2 separate regions of the Homo sapiens genome follow, and region 2 is linked to region 1. The links are contacts of gene promoters, found by promoter capture Hi-C in blood cells and fetal thymus (Javierre and others, 2016). All regions are on one chromosome and are shown on one strand. The core of a region is centred on a gene start or on the middle of the fragment in contact, and the rest is flanking DNA. Distances in the headings are between cores, read along the strand shown.

What was found. The method cuts DNA at HindIII sites, captures the fragments that hold promoters and counts their contacts. A CHiCAGO score of 5 or more calls a contact.
Region 2: a fragment that was not itself captured here is called in contact with the fragment with the promoter of TICAM2 in region 1 in 1 of 17 cell types (M2 macrophages); the score reaches 5.3 in M2 macrophages.

What each region holds. Positions count from the first base shown.
Region 1 is chr5:115,599,574-115,605,032 of GRCh38, reverse strand. It overlaps TICAM2 (TIR domain containing adaptor molecule 2), which reads left to right and starts at 2,554. Exons shown (of 2, transcript NM_021649.7): 1 at 2,554-2,936. All of the region lies in intron 3 of TMED7-TICAM2 (TMED7-TICAM2 readthrough), which reads left to right. TICAM2-AS1 (TICAM2 antisense RNA 1) reads right to left here and starts at 2,878. Exons shown (of 3, transcript NR_109875.1): 1 at 2,573-2,878; 2 at 1,877-1,987. RefSeq lists a silencer at 2,563-3,062 and enhancers at 2,682-3,204, 3,153-3,232. The HindIII fragment of the contact is 4,479 bases long and covers 1-3,725 here.
Region 2 is chr5:119,329,655-119,335,113 of GRCh38, reverse strand. It overlaps a transcript of TNFAIP8 not described here. Among named protein-coding and RNA genes, the nearest start is that of TNFAIP8, 24 kb to the left of the region's middle. RefSeq lists enhancers at 228-287, 1,665-1,714, 2,325-2,374. The HindIII fragment of the contact is 898 bases long and covers 1,688-2,585 here.

The DNA.
Region 1 (5,459 bases), core at 1,305-3,804:
GAAGAAATGTTTTTGGGATTCCTATGCAATGGATAAAACCTTCAGAAATGTCAAGAATATTAGTGCCAGTGGAAACACTGCAGGCAGAGAATGCAGATTTATACCTTGAATGTGAATTATCTTTGTGAAGACAAAGTGCTACCTATTTCTTATGGAAATTGCCCAATGTAACCATCATGTTACCGGGTTGCCAGCAAGTCTCATTGACAGTAATGCCATATTAGGAACCCAGCCTTGGAAATGTAGTCACACTCCACGTTGTTGCCAGGTTGGGCATTCGGCAATGATAGTAGCCAAATAATGTAGGTAAGGAGAAGACCATACTATTGAACCTCTGTCACTGCTTTGATAGCCACTTGGTACATGGGCCCATTAACCAAGCCCTGGGTTGGCTGGAGAAAAAGACTGACATCTACCAGACAATTCATCTTGTTCCGCTTATTATTGAAAATCTTCTCCACCTGATGCATCCTGTTAGGCACTTATGGGGGATATGAATATCTTCACATGCCCTCACCACTCCAAGAGGGTTATCTGTAAGTCTCACGGACAGATCTTTTACAAATTTTCCATTTTGTTCTTTCCAAGAACCTAAAAGCTGGACAATCCATTAGACACTGCCTGTAAGTCAGTATATTTATCAGTTTGTCATGTCGTCCCCTCCTTTCTTGAATGTGAATAACCAGGTATGTAGCTAGAAATTGCCCACTAGGAAGATTCGCTGTCCCCATTAGCAATGCACGGATCTGAAATTGTCTCACTTCTTTACATATCTGTCTGTCTCCCAGATTAGACTATAAAATCTCCATGAGAACTAGGACTGTGTCTCCTGTTCGCACAATATCCCTAATGTCTAGCACATAGAATATATTCTAAACATATGTGGCGTAAGTGATTGATGCATTTTCTTGAACATTTGGAGAGAAAATGTTAAGCAATTAAACTTGTAACCAATTTAAGATTTTTTTTAGTACATGTGACTGTATTATGAAGAACAATGCAAAATTTGGAGCAATTTACAAGAAGATGGAACAGTTCAAGTAAATTTGCCCATGACACTAGTGACTTCAGGCTCTTTTATGTATGCAACCTAAGTGATGAATAGGGAAGTACGTGTTTATGGAATCTGTCATTGGTGGTATTTCAGTGGGAAAATGTGAAAAGCTCTGATTTTGAAGGGTTGCCAGAGAAAGAGGAACAGGCAGAGGAAACTGAAAGAAGAATTTTTTTTTTTTTTTTTTTTTTTTGAGACGGAGTCTCACTCTGTGGCCCAGGCTGGAGTGCAGTGGCGCGATCTCGGCTCACTGCAAGCTCCGCCTCCCGGGTTCAAGCCATTCTCCTGCCTCACCCTCCCAAGTAGCTGGGACTACAGGCAGCTGCCACCACTCCCGGCTAATTTTTTGTATTTTTTAGTAGAGACGGGGTTTCACCGTGTTAGCCAGGATGGTCTCGATCTCCTGACCTCGTGATTCACCCGCCTCGGCCTCCCAACAGGCCTGAAAGAATTTTAACAAGCAGGATGAGCATAAAGGCAAAGTGGGGTTGTCAACATCAAGGAAACAGAGTGTTGGGAAACAATGGTCGACTTTGTCAATCGCCAAAGAGACTCCCAGGAAAAATGAGGGCAACAAAAGTATCAGTTGGATTTAGGAGGCCACTGCTTACCCAAAGAGTTCAGGTAGAATTGTTGGGAGGTGCAGTGGTTGGAGAATCAACTCCGTGAATAATGAATTGTGTTGACACGGTACATAATACGGTATTTCTGACTACATTGGCGGCATTTCACTAAGTAATTACTACCTGAAGTGCCTACCTTCAGTAAGGCATCCTGTTGTTGGATGGGGAAAGAGAAGGAGGAAATAACTCTTAGCTTTACCTGTACTGTGCTTCTGAGACCCAGGTATGGACCTTCACTCCCAATTTACTATCCATGGTCTCATCCGATGTTCAGTAACTGGGTTCTCCTTTGGCAGGGAGTAGGGATTGCCTGAGAATTAAAAGGGGAGGGGAGATTTCTGAACTGGACCTCTTAGGTTATGACTAGATTGGGTGCCTGAGGCAGCAATGGGGCTTTATAAGGCTTCTTTACGCTTCATTTAACTAATTGCTTTTTTGTTCTCTCTTATTCAGTGGAGTTCCAATCTGTTCGGTTGTGGAGAACGAACCTGAGAAAAAGGATCTTTCGCAGGGTAGTTTTTGGGGGCAGAGGCTGATGTGCTGCACCCCCTAATCAGGGGTATGGTTGGCTGCAGTAGTCAAGTGAGAGGGCCGCAAAGGGAAAGGAAAAGTCGAGACTATCTTAGGGAACCAGGAGAGTCGCTGTACCTCTGAAAGATCTACGGTTTGTCTGGTCTGTAAGGAGCAAACACGGTGGAATTCCTTTCCAGATTTTTCTGGGCCTCGACCTCTGGCTTTTGGGGTACATGCCAAAAAAAAAAAAAAAAAAAAAAGCGCAGGGAGAGTCCACTAGCCTCGGTGACAGTTCCCCATTGCGGTTTCCCCTCCTCCACCCTTCTTTGCGAGCTCCTTCCCTCTGCAGAGAGTTATCCCGCCACATTAACCCCTGACTCACAGCTGGACCGCCCCGGCCCGCAGCGCCACGTCCCGGGTGGGGCCTGCCACGGCAAAGCAGCAGTCCGGCCTCGAGCGGCCCCTCGGGGGCGGCGGGGTGGGCGCCAACAGCAGTCAGGCCTGACAAGCGGCGACCTCCAAGGGTGAGGCCTCTGCGGGCCCCCGACTCACGCGCGTCCGGGCTCTGCAAGCGCGGTGGGGAGCAGGCTGCTGTGGTCGCGGGGACTGGGTTGCGGCGCGCCGCGTACGGGACGGCCCCAAACTCTCGACGCCCGGGGCAAGACGCCCACCCCCTGGGCGCTCTCGCTGGGCCAGAAAGGAAGACAGAAAAGCCGCGGGCTGACTGTGGTGGCGCTCGCCTGCAGGCAAGTACCGGGCGCTAGGGCGGGGGCCGCCGCCGGGGGCGCGGGGTGGGCTGGGGCCAGGCCGCCAGGGGCGCGGGGTGGTCTGGGGGCCAGGCCGCCTGCGCTACCTCCCCAGCCTACCCGACCCGACGGCGCGGGTGCTGGCGCTGTTGTCCCCAGCGGGGCGGGCAGGCCTTTCCGTCACTTGGCTTACTCTGAAGGGAAAATCCACACAGCTGTCTGCCTTTTTGTTTCATTTTGACTAGAAAACCCATTTTCGAAAAGACACCTCAGAACCATAAGCAAATAGCCCAGAGTCTTAAATGCTCTAAAGGCTCTGCATGAGCCCCTGCCAGGCACACAGAGCCAGTGCTGGAGGTTTTGGCATGGGTTTTCCTACTTGGCTTTTTGTGCAAAGCTAATTTGGATAAAAATAATTTGACTGGCAGCTGTGAGCTAGTTTTCAGTGTATTAGGACCTCTCCAGCTTTCCACGGTAGTAAACTTCTTAAAGAAAGTATTTTAAAATATTCTCATATTTATTATTATTTTTTAATTTATCCTTTTAATTTTGAAAAGCAAGGGTGGGAAAGGCTATATGATCTGGAGGTAAAAATACACCATTATATAGAGTTGAAGTGTCATCCCCTGAACCCACATTGCACGTCTACACAGGAGAAGAACTTGTCCTTCTCCAAGTGTTTAGTATTCCTTAGATTAGTGTTTTTCAAACAAGCCTGATGGTAAGACGCATTTGGGACTTTTGTTTAAAATGCATCCCCCCACCTCTGAAGGTTTAATTTGGTAAGCTTGATTTCCAGAATCTGTATTTCTATTTTTTTATTGTTTAATTTAATTTTATGTTCTGGGATACATGTGCAGGACTTGCAGGTTTGTTACATAGATAAACGTGTGCCATGGTGGTTTGCTGCACCTATCAGCCCATCAATCCTTACATTTTAATATTTTGAAGTAGTAGGATGGTTATAAATGGAGTTAAGCAACTCCACTTTATATCTCATTCAAATCAGAAAATAGATAAGCAGGTATAGAATATTGACACCTACATTTGAAGCAAAGTAAATGTGACATGTACGCCTTACCGTATGGAACTTGAAGTATAAACCATGTTTACACTGTTGAATCATGGGCATCTGTGTTGAGTCATTTGTTCCTTATGCTATTCTTAAAATGTATTCATTTAACAAATATCTGCTGTTAAATCTTCTGTCTTTAATCCCCCCTAGACCACACATCCCATTCTAGGTCCCGCTCCCCTACTTTGCTTCTTTTTATAACAAACAAAAATCCTCTTTGAAAGATTTAATCTAAGTCTCCATTTTCATTTTCCCTGTTTCTTCCTACCCCCTCTCATCTGAGGCTTTTTGTCCCCATTACCCCCTGCATGGTCCTGATGTTGCCAATGACTGTCTTGTGAAATCCAGTGTCTGTGCACAGTTCTCATCTTTCCTGACCCCTCAGTAACATTTGATCACTCCCTCCTCAATATTCTTTTTTCTTCACTAATGTTCTTCACTAATATTCTTTCTTCTTCACTTGGCTTCCAGGTCACCATATTCTGCATTTCATTCTGCTTCATTGTGTCTCCAGGCTTCCCCACCACTAAATCTTAGTATGCCACAGAGTTCATTTCTTGGCCATATTTTTCTAGCCATACTTTCCCCCAGGACAATTTGTATCCCAAGCCATATTCCTTGGCTATAAATAATATCTATCAGCTGATGACTTCCAAAATTTTATTCCTAGCTTTAGTTCGCTTCTGAGCTCCAGATGTATGTGTATGTCCAGCTGTTTACTCAGCATCTCCACTTGGAAGTCTGATAGGCATTTAAATTTAGTATGGACAGATAGAACTACTGATGCCAGATTCACCAAGTTCTCCCTCTGTTTCCCCTCAGCTCCCTCCCTTATCTCAATAAACAGCCTCAGTTACTGCCATTCAAGTAGGCCGGAATTCTAGGAATTTACTCTTGACTTCTCTTTTTAGGTCAGACTCCGCATCCAAGCATCCAACAAAATCTGTTGACTCTACCCAGATCTGCCCACCTCTCTCTCCCTCTCTAAGCTAAGCCACAGTCCTCTCCTACCTACATGATTGAGAAGTCTCTGCCTCTGCCCTTGCTCCTCTACAGTCTTTTCCAAATAGCAGTGATTTTTGTCATACATACTCAGAACTTTCATTTCCCTTCAAAACCTTCTGGTGGCTTCTTATCAGAATCACAAAAAAAAAGAAAGAAAAAAAAAAGAAAAGAAAAACAGGCTTACAATGGCTTTAAAGCCCTGTGTGATCTAGTCCCTGACTAGTTCTCTGAACTCATCTCCTGACTTCCCTCTCATCCACTCCACTGTAGTAACACTGATTGTGCTGCTGTTGCCTTTGCCTGCAGCTGGTGTCTGCTAGACCATTGCACACTGTACTCCCTCACTTCTCTGTTAGCATGCTGCCTCAGGGGTTACTGTGCTATTGCAGCAAGATCTCTTTTGCTGCTGGGCCTGTGCGGTAGGTTGCTATTAAATACTGAAT
Region 2 (5,459 bases), core at 887-3,386, 3.7 Mb before region 1:
CAGAGTAGACAAGCTCCTACGCGCCACTCTGCCACTACGGTTCTCAGCTTGGCACGCACAACCTTGCCTCCCCTTCACTTCTAGCCTGGCTATTTTCAACCACGAATTTACAGTTCGTTCTCAAATGGTTCATGCTTACCCTTGAATGCTTATGACTTAATCACTCCAGCCTTGGAAGCTTTATGTACACGTCTTTCTGCCAAAGTACGCTACCTACCCTCCCTTTGGAACTCTACCCAAAACTCACTTCTTCCACAAAATCCTCCCAAGCAAAGCTGGCTCTGATCTCAACTCTATATATGCAATGACATACAGTCACAGACACATAACCATTTTTTTTGAGACGGAGTCTCACTCTGTCACCAGGCTGGAGTGCAGTGGTGCGATTCTCGGCTCACTGAAATCTCCACCTCCCAGGTTCAAGCAATTCTCCTGCCTCAGACTCCCAGGTATACACACACACACACACACACACACACACACACACACGAAAGGATCACATGCACAGCTCTAGGCATCTAGTAGACGAATGTACATTTACTATAAATGATATGCAGGTGACCACATTCCATACAAGAGAAGTCAGGACTCTATGAAATAATATTTATTGGCTGCCAAGGGTTCAATAATGGACCAAAAGATTAGCTATACCAACACCCACCTATGTCTTCCAAATTCTAGTTTTTCCCTAGTATTAAATTTAAGCTCCAAAAAATCTGTTGAGCAGAACAATTTTAAGTAAACCTAAGCAAATATTATATATCAACTTGAACAAAAGTGTATAAATACCAATATAACTTTAAGGGCTATTTAAAACACTCTATTCTAATCCTTGATAACTTTTTCAATTTACTTTAAAAATAAAATTAAGTCTACTTGTGGGAGCATTAAGTATGGCTAAAAACAAACCTAAGGTGTTATTTTAAAAGTACAAAATGCTTTATATGTAAGGTAAACCGTTTTTTTTTTTTTTTGGTTGTTAGAGAAAATGGCAACAGCAATATTCAAACAATTATCCAATAAGAGAATAGAAATAAACAGCCTTGTGTTTACGGGTTGCCCCACGGTGTTACCACTGCTACCAGACCACTGGGAACCAGAGGTGTCCTACAGTTAATAAACGCATGGAAAATGTAAAAGAGAAACTCTGAGTGAAAAAGCCATCCAATCTTTTCAGAGTCCCATCTCTGAAACATTTCAAATCTTTATCTGTTTACAAATGAAACTGTCTACATGCAAACTTTAAATGTCATTTTTCCACCCACAATACTCATACCTCTCCCTGCTTAACACTGGTTCCCCACACCCAGAGCCATAGCAAAACAAAACAAAACAGTGATTTGTTGAACACAGTAGCTCTAAAGCCACGACCAAACATTATTTCCTTGAAGACAGCAATACTATGTTAGTCATCTGAACATTTTACCAGATTTCAACAAAGACATTATATCTAAACATATTCTGAAGGCCGTTTTAACTCACCTAGTTTCAGCATTTTCTCCCCGTGTGCAATCAGAAGGACAACTTCACAGTATCTTGGTAGAGTCATACAGACTTGAGGAATGCATGCAACCACCCTGTTGACGTGTACACTATGGAACCTGCATCACCCTCGGGGAGACTCAGTCCTTCTCAAGAATAATTCAAAATAATTTATACTATTCTTTTGAAAAATCTACCATAAGCTTACCACATAAATGCACAGAAGGCACTGGTCAACTACAGTCACTTTGAAAGTTGTCTTGCTTGTTATTCTGGGAGCTAGGTTTCGTCACTTGTAGTGGAATGCATTAGGTAGCCTTTAATTGTGAGTCCAGAGAGGTCTCCACATTCACAACAGGGATGGACTGGTTGCTGCCTGCACTTGCTCCCTGTAAACTACAACTACATAGAAATGCAAGATTACCTGTGACAAGCAAACAGGAGTATATTCAAAATCAAGCAGAAACAGGAAGTCTAACGTTTCAACATGCTAGAAAATAGAAACAGATACTTAGAAAAAAAAAAAAACTAAAAAAAAGGGAGAGGCCCCATTCACAGATGCCTGAAAAAAAGAAAATAAAAAAAACACCTCATTCCTACCTGTATAAACATGAACGTCTATTAATAATACGTATTGCTCAGAGGTGTTTCTGTTCTCAGGAGAACTAAGAATAGAGTTTGGACAATGTTGCTACTTAAAATCATCAGCCTTTTGCTTTGGAAGAGTATATAAGGTTTTCATAATGAATGTAAGTGTGAGTGTATCCAGGCATACACAATACACACATGTACACATACACATACATGCATTTATACAATCTAATAGTTTCTTTAGGAGCCTGTTTATTTACGTGGGCATTTGGCAGTCATTGCCACCCACAAATCTTTCCTTATCCACTCCCCCAAGTAAGATTCAAGTGTACCACTTCTAAGAAGGCTTTTCTTTGGTGATCCCTATTAGGTATGTATGATCTCAATCTCTTCCTTTAGCCCCTACTGCACCTTGGTTGACCTTTCTTGGTAACACTTTTTGGTATCTATCACAGCTGTCCTTATATTATCTTCAGTTGTTTATCTATCTTACTCTCCCTACATGGTAAGCTTCTTGATTTTATTTCTATACTCTGTAGCAATAACACTCTACCTTGAAACTACCAAGCACCTAGCAAAAAAAGTGGAAGGTGATGGACAAACTCTCCAAGGTCTGGTTCAGAGTCTATTTATGCCACCTTCTGGTTGTGTATACGTGCAAGTTATTTAACACCCCTGAATAATTTTGCACTTCCGTAAGATGAGAATAACATCATCAATGTCACAGAATTGCTATTAAGATTTAACGAGAACCACGTGAAGCAAATAACATATTGCCTGATGCACATAGAGTTCTCAAGCAGTAATGAGCATTATTATTGACCTAAATTAAAATCAAATGCCCAATACTAATTTGGGAAGGAGGCCAAAAGAGATACCAAATCAACATCAATTTACAAACATATCTCTGTATTTCTTATTTTCTTTGGCCTACATTATCATGTGACTAACTCATAGCGATATGACACTTATACCTTAGAAACCATATTTTTGTGTTCTTTTGTGTTATCTCCCCAAATTCTGACTGGCCCTTCATGCCATGAAAACATCAGGGACTAAGGGTCAAAGAAGATGTCAAGAGAAAGCTCTTCCTGGAAGTGCAGGACCCTAAATCACAAGGACTTCGCAGGCTGTGACTCACTGGCAATTCCAAGGGTAAGCTACAAAGAGCAGAAATACTGCATCTAAACAGTGGAACAGGCCTCTCACATTTCCCTAAAATGTGACCTCAGTGGTGGCTGCATGGCTAGGTGGTCACTAGGAACCACTCTTTCCAGTTCTGCTAGGGGAGGATGGGGCAGTGCAGTGAGGCTGCAGGAAGACAAGGCTGGAGGAAGAATCCTGCAGTCCTATGTGAAAACAACTGCCTTCATGGCATCAGGGCCCTTACACATGCTCCAGGCCCAGTCGGGGAGGCACCAGCAAGGTCCCAACACCAGGCAAGGGCAGAGGACATGGTAGCCTCATGTATCCAGTGGGCACCTCTACACCCAGCAGGAAACTCCTGGTTTTGGAGAGAGCTCTCCAAAAACAGGAGAACAAAAAGCAAAGCATCTGCACAGACATTTCCCTAAGACACTCCTTTTCTCTCACTTGAGACTAGAATGCCCAAGATATCCCCGGATCTATTCAAAGTGTGCTGTTTAAACCAGTCCCAGCAGTTAGCATCCTGCTTATCCTACTTGATTTGGGAACAAAGAAGAGTCATCACAGACATAGGCTAGAGAGCAGGGAGATTCTCAAGTAAGTATTTGTGAAGCAGTCAAACCTTACAGAATAGCCTTATGTTTAAAAAAAAAAAAAAAAGCTAATATCTCTTTGTAGATATGACTATGCACAGCACTTCCATGCTTCCCTAGGACTTGTGAATTAAGACACTCTAGGTAGGTTCAGGGATCAACATTGTGATGATTGCCCAATGTGGATGCATCACCCATGCTTCAAGGCAAGGAGGAGAGTGGAGGCAGCCAGGACTTCCAGCCCTAGGAGCCCTGCCTGGTGGCCTAGTGGCTGAAGAATCTGTCCAGGCCTAGCTTCGTGAAAGCAATTTGTGCTCAGGAATATAGTTGGCTCTTGGCCTTTTTCTTGGTGGGCACAACTCTGCAGCAGAAGCGCAGGGCTAATCTGTACCCTAACCCCTAACCCCCAGCCCCTGAGAGTGCAACTGGCATTGGCAGTCATGGAGGTAGCCTGGAGTGTCACAGTAATACCAAATAAGCTGTCATTAGGGAAGTCTGCGGCCACCTTATCTGGTACTTCTTCTCTATCTCTCTGCAAACACATGATGGTGGCCATGAGAAAATGAGATCCTTCCCTTCCGTGTGTGTGTACTCCACGTTATCTCGGCATCTCAGAGCAAGAGACTATCACTTACATCATTTCACTCTCCCCACACCCTGCGAAAGTGGGTGGCAATCCCAGTTTCCAAAGCGAGTGTCAGAGCAGAGAGGTTAAGCAGCATATTCAGCAGGACCCTGCACAATAGGACAGGGCTGAGAGGAGAGGCCATGAGGCCTAACCCCTACCCTCCCAGAACAATCTCTAGACACACATGCTCTCGCTGGCCTAGTTTCATCAACTGCTTATCACATACCCCAAGAAAAATATTTCCTTTATAGCTACCCACATCCTTATCAGAAGCACATTCAACAAAATCATCAAAAGAGTGATGACATTTGTGTCTGCATAAAAAGATACTTTCATTTGTTTATTTCATCTAATTCTACAGCCTCAGACAGAACTGGAAATGTCTACAAAACACCTTGGCCTTTATGCTTTGGCATTCCCAGGACGTTCCCTAATCCCTAGTGCTTAATGCCATGGCTGCCAAGATTAATTTCATTTTCTTTCTGTTCAACCTTCCTCTCTTCCCATCAGTCCTCTCTGTACCCTCCTCGTATGCTGAATCCTGCCCATGCTAACTCTTTCAATGGCGTGCCTAAACCATGGCGCTAATTATAGCTTCCCCCTCCTCTATTCAACTTACTCCTCTTTGTCTCTCTCCTCTTCTTCAAAGAGGAAAGAGTCATTGGTGAAGCAGGGAGGAAGGCAGGCTGAGAAGGAATTATTCCAGGAGACTCAGGGACTGAGATAAACAATATGCTCAGAAGCGTTTTCCAGATGGCCTAACAGAGACGGCGGATGGTCAGACTCACTTCTCACATAAAGGAGGCCTTGCACAGCACAGGATTTCCCCAAACCTTGTCTGGACATGGACTTGCATGGTCCATGTCTAGACAAGGCTGGGGAAATCCTGCTGCTAAGCACCTGGAGATGTCCACAGTGTGCATGGTGCTCTCACTGTGGTCCACTCACTCCTCGCCAAAACCCTGGGAGGTGGGCGTCATTATCCTCGGATTACAGGTGTGGAAACCCAGCTCCATAAA